2 separate regions of the Homo sapiens genome follow, and region 1 is linked to region 2. Evidence: promoter capture Hi-C in 16 types of primary human blood cells and fetal thymus (Javierre and others, 2016). All regions are on one chromosome and are shown on one strand. The core of a region is centred on a gene start or on the middle of the fragment in contact, and the rest is flanking DNA. Distances in the headings are between cores, read along the strand shown. Region 1 holds the start of TEX55 (testis expressed 55). Region 2 holds the start of B4GALT4-AS1 (B4GALT4 antisense RNA 1).

Region 1 (2,859 bases), core at 216-2,715, 80 kb before region 2:
CTCAAATTGATAAATCATCATTTTGTAAAATATATACATACCTATAGATATAGACACATAGATTTGCATGGGGGTATTTCCAGAAGGATAAACATCAAAATGTCAATACAGGTTATCTCTTGAGTGTTTGGGAATTTTTTTCTTTACGCTTTCTTTTTTATATTTCTATGATTATTACATTTAAGTTATAAAATGGAAAAATAAATCTCCAAAACCAATAGCACTTTGAAGCTACAAGCCATAGCCCAAGACCTATTTTACTCTAAACACAGTATCCAATGGTGTCATGCATTTTTAAATAAATAAGGTAGATAATTCATAAAGTGACATTCAACAAGCACTTCTTGAGCACCTATTATGTTCTAGGCACTGTTACATAAATGACTTTACTTCAGTGTGCTTAGATTCCCCTTTCCATTCCTAAGTATGGTGTCAAGTGTATCCACTCTCCTTTGTCACAAGTATTTGAATTTGGATTTTAAGTCTCATTTCTAATTGTTTAATGCAGTTAAATCCCTACTAAAGGAATATCTGGCATCACACTACCAACCCTTGGCCTGCCTCAGTGATTTCAGGCTTTGCAAGGTCAAAGTAATTTGTCTCATCAATCACCACCTCTGTACTGGCCTACTCCTGAAAGTAGACAGCCTACTGACTCTGAGGTGCATTCTTAAGGTTGATTGCAAAGTGGGAGGACCAAATCTCAAAAACTGGGCCCCACTGGCCAACACTATCAAATACAAATTCTCCACTTGCTAAATATTCCTTCTGGTATCTTTCTCCCACTTTCCTTACTCCCTTCCTTTCTGGAACTCTGATTTGGCCTCCTTCTAACTCGCCTCTCTGCTGTAAGACCACTAGATGGTGCAGTTTTAGAACCCATTCTCACTGGATCTTCTCTCCTCTCTCTGGCTCTCCCGCCACAGATCACATGTCTAATCCAGCAAGAAAACACCTTGGGGCAGGAGTTTCCACTGCCAAGACAGCTATACCCAAAGGGGATGGCAATAGCAACAACCTCTGTTCAGTTTTGTGGTCCTCGTGCAGCTGGTTGTGTGTTCATCTGTTGACATTTGGAGGTGCGGTGGGGGATGTTAATCAGAGGAGCAGTACCTGAGAGAGGGCCTCTTTCTCACACACTGCGGAGAACCTCTGTGAACAAGGAAGAGGGTAACACTCTAGGTGGCGATGCACGGAGCCCCGTGGCCTGGTTGCTCGGCAGGGTGAGGAGAAGCTGTAACTGCCAGAGCCTGAGAATCGCCCCTTCTCAGGACATGGCGTACTCCCTGCGCTCGCCTGCACACTGCAGGGTCAGCTGACTGCCGTCCCTCCACTTACAACAGCGGGACGGCCACTCTCCCTGACGCACGCAGTGACCCGAACAAAGCCCGTGGGAATCATGGGGCGTTCCTGGAGGGTCGCCTAGACGACCCAGCCCAACCCCACCCACAGTGCCTGGCAACCTAGACCAGTCAGGGACGCGGCAGGAAATGGAAGAGCCTCCGCAAGAGGCTCTGGCTGAACCCTTGAAACATGAAAGCCCAGCCGCTCCCTCAAGTGCTGGCCACACTAAGGGCCAGGAAGAAGACGACCAGAAGAACCAGGCCGAAAGGAAGGCAGATAACCACACTGCTCACAGAATAGCTGACCAGACTGCCCTAAGAGTGCCTAGCCAGGCTGAATCCAGCATATTTAGCCAAGCTACCAACGGAGTAGCTGAACAAAATGGGCATAGTACACCTGGTCAGGCTGGCCGCAGAGCATCCAACCCTGCTGATGTTTCTGACCTTAGAGCAGATGATCAGGTTAATCAAACACCGTCTGAACAGACTAAAGGCAAGGCATCTAGCCAAGCTAATAATGTACAGCATGAACAGAGTGATGGTCAGGTGTCTGGCCTGACGGAGGAAAGAACTGCTGAACAGACTGAACGAAGATTACCTACCCAGGCTGAGAGAAGAACTTCTGGGCAGATTGATGGTAGACTGGCTATGCCATCTGACCAGAGAGGTTCCAGACAGACCGACCACAGAATGGCAGGCCAGTCTGAGAGAAGAGCTTCCGAGCAGATGGACCGCAGAATGTCTGGCGAGGCTGAGCGAAGAACTTCTGAGCAGATTACACACAGATTATCCAAACTATCTGAGAGAAGACCTTCTGTGCAGATTGACAGTGGGTCATCCGTCCCATCTGACCAAAGTCCTTCTGTACAGATTGACAGTGGATCGTCCGTACCATCTGACCAAAGACCTTCCGTACAGATTGACCGCAGAATGTCAGGGAAAGTTAGGAGAAGAAGTTCTGAGAAGACTGACTACAGATTGGCTGGCCTGGCTGACCCAGGAACTTCTGAGCAGACTGACCTCAGATTGTATGGCCTCGTTGACCACAAAACATCTGTAAAGACTCACCACCAAGTGTACGGCCAAGCCACTGAACTAGCTGAACACCAGGCTATTGACCAAGCTCATAGTAATGCTGATCAACCTCCAGTTGACAATGCTCACTACACTGAATCTGACCAGACTGACCACTTAGCAGACAGACAAGCTAATCATAAAGACCAGCTGTCTTACTATGAAACACGTGGCCAGTCTGAAGACAGAATATTTCCCCAGTTAGGCAACAGCAAAGAGGACAAAGAGGCTGACTACAGAGTACAACCCTGCAAATTTGAGGATAGCCAAGTAGACCTCAATTCCAAGCCTTCAGTTGAAATGGAAACTCAGAATGCAACCACTATCCCACCCTACAACCCAGTTGATGCCAGATTCACCAGTAACTTCCAAGCAAAAGACCAAGCTCTTTTCCCAAGACTCCCCTCCATCTCATCCAAATTGAACTATACCAGCAGTCAAG
Region 2 (2,804 bases), core at 24-2,523:
TGTAATATGATTGAAGCTGTAATAAAAAAATTAAATAATTTTTTCATGGCTGCTTCATTCAAATTCCTTCAGAATGAATTCCAGTTAAGTGGTTTATCATAAAAGTGCAAGTATTTCTCAGAAGTTACCACAATGTTTTCCTGATAAGAATAACACGAAGCAGACATATTTTTCTCTTTCTCTTTTTCTTTTTTTTTAATTTGAGATGGAATCTCGCTCTGTTGCCCAGGCTGGAGTGCAGTGGTGTGATCTTACCTCACTGCAGCCTCCACCTCCTGGGTTCAAGTGATTCTCCTGCCTCAGCCTCCTGGGTAGCTGGGACTACAGGCATGTGCCACCACACCCAACTAATTTTTTTTTTTTTTTTAGTATTTTAACAGAGTATTTTGTATTTTTAGTAGAGACAGGGTTTCACTATGCTGGCCAGGCTAGTCTCAAACTCCTATCCTCAAGTGATCCACCCACCTTGGCCTCCCAAAGTGCTGAGCCACCGGGCCTGGCCCAAAGCAAACATGTTTTTCTATTCATAAAAATAGTACTATACCTTGTAGGTTACTGTCCTGAGCAAGAACTCAGAATCAAATAAATCATAACTATGACCAACAACCTTAAAAACAAAAATAGCTATAAAACAATATAATAGTAACATTTTGTTCCAAGTACTAAAATACAGACATAGGTGTGCTATATAAGCACACTGATTTTCAAGAGCCTCAGTTTATCACCAAGTCTATACTGCAGAGCTGGTCCTCTGAGTTGTCCAAAGTTTTATCTAAAAGAAATATTACCTGTTCTAACAGTAGTGATGATTTTGCTGACATTCTTAGAATTTATAAGAATTTGAGGGGGAATTATCCCTCTTCTTGGCCTCCTTGGATGGCCAAGGATAACTGTGAAAAGTTTAGACACTGATGTTTAAACTGATGTCTTAGTTTTCTTTCAATAAACTTTAATGCCAAATAGAGGTATCTTTAATCATCCACTCCACTGACCTCAGAGGTAAGCTCTTCAAAAGCAGCCGATAGTTATGCTGTGCTCCTACCAAATCATGCTTCTGGAAGTCAAATAGATGAATCCAGAAAGTGAAAATCAAACATAATATGTTTCACATAATAAATAGTGGCAAAGTTCAGGGCAGAAATGTGGTGGCAGCCATAGAGCACCACAGCTACTAATACAGAATGTTCTTTCAAATCCTCTGTCTAGATCCCCATTGAGTTGCTATGGTTGATAATGACAGACAATTCCAGAATCTCATCATATAGTGCATGGCACGCACAGAAAGAAACAGAAGGGGCCAGGAAGCCTCCGGGGAAATCTGAGGGCAGTCATTGGCTAACATGGAAGGGCTCACAAAACAGGCTTCCTCCAGAGGTTCCTTTAAGGGCAGTAAAATTTCCCAGAACTTGAACCCATAACTCCACACTCTGAGACAAGAATTTCCTCTACTCCTTTCAAGGATAAATGAGGTAAGAGAACTCGTTTTTGATGATAGTCTGATGTTCCTTTTACCCAACATAGACAAACAGTCACATGGCCAAGTCTGGCAGAGAAGAGGAGGGTCGAGGGCAGGCCCTGGTCTGCCCCCACGCTCACCTGGTGGATGACGTAGATGCCATAATCCAGCTGCTGCCTCTGCAGGAAGGGATGCAGATGTTCCAGCAGGTACATCAGGTGTTTCTCTCTGTTCCGGTGGGGAACGAGGATGGCGACCCTCTGTAAAGCTTTACATTCCTGAGGGCGATACCGGCCTCTGGACACTTTGGGATTTTCTGCCTGTACCTCTTCCAAAGTGAGATCTGGTTTGAAAATGAGCTTGCTCTGGCCTCCTACAATGAACATAGGACACAGACAATAACAGTAGCTACTTCAAAAAGTGTTGAGGTTTACACGAGCTAATATGCATAGAAAGAACACTGCCCAGCTCACAGTGAGTACTACAAATGTCAGCTTTTATTATGATTACTTTAAAGGCTCATTTAGTCATGATAATGGCCAGAGCATCATGTCACTAAGGTTACTGGCTGCAAAAGCAAGTGGTGGATATATAATATAAGCATTTCCTTGTGGCTGGGTAATCAACTTGCTCTATGATCCATCTGTAAGAGGGAATATCCTGGTGAACTCTGGTAAGAGCAAAGGGCAGGGCTAGACAGAGTAACTTCAACTTTGGTCTATCCTCTTTTCCTTCACCAAATTCCAGGAGGAGGGGAAAATCTCTTAAATATCAACAGCATTCCACAGAATCAAGCTCCTGGACAAGGCACTCTTCCCACCCCTTCCCTAAACTCTGGAACCACCCTGGCTCCCTGTAAGCAAAGCACTAAAAAGAAGTAGAAACCAGTCTCCCTCCCTAACCCAGCTGTAACAGGTATGTGTGGCACTGCAACAACTCTCCCATTTTGCCACCACAACAGACGTTTCCAATCGAGCACAGTATTTGCTCAGTGTCTGGAAGCAATCCAAACAGATGAAACCCAAAGCCATCCACAGGAGGAAAACAGCTCAGGTTTTTTTGTTTGTTTGTTTCTAAATTCCACGTATACTGGTCAGGCTGTAAAATCTCAAGATGCTTGCAAATTGAGCTATCCCCTTCTGAGTAAAGCAGTCATAGGCCCTTCCTGTGCGAAAGTCGCCATGACTTGTTCCATGTAACCATCCCCTACCCTGGCCATGGCTGCTTAGACCAGGCTCACGTGTCTAATGGCACCTTGGTGCTCTGCTCAACAGCAGGCAAGGTAAGTAACTTCTTCAAGCCACCCAAAGAGAATAATTGGCCTACGAGAGCCTTCCTGCAGGGTCTA

Evidence for each region. The method cuts DNA at HindIII sites, captures the fragments that hold promoters and counts their contacts. A CHiCAGO score of 5 or more calls a contact.
Region 1: the fragment with the promoter of TEX55 here is called in contact with the fragment with the promoter of B4GALT4-AS1 in region 2 in 17 of 17 cell types (activated CD4 T cells, total CD4 T cells, non-activated CD4 T cells and 14 more); the score reaches 30.0 in activated CD4 T cells.

The regions. Positions count from the first base shown.
Region 1 is chr3:119,144,700-119,147,558 of GRCh38, forward strand. It overlaps TEX55 (testis expressed 55), which reads left to right and starts at 1,466. Exons shown (of 3, transcript NM_152539.3): 1 at 1,466-2,859. The coding sequence starts at 1,491. It also overlaps a transcript of IGSF11 not described here. RefSeq lists a silencer at 723-1,017. The HindIII fragment of the contact is 11,642 bases long and covers 1-2,859 here.
Region 2 is chr3:119,225,213-119,228,016 of GRCh38, forward strand. It overlaps B4GALT4-AS1 (B4GALT4 antisense RNA 1), which reads left to right and starts at 1,274. Exons shown (of 4, transcript NR_046574.1): 1 at 1,274-1,469. It overlaps B4GALT4 (beta-1,4-galactosyltransferase 4), which reads right to left. Exons shown (of 8, transcript NM_003778.4): 4 at 1,597-1,829. RefSeq lists a silencer at 76-248. The HindIII fragment of the contact is 1,940 bases long and covers 1-1,722 here.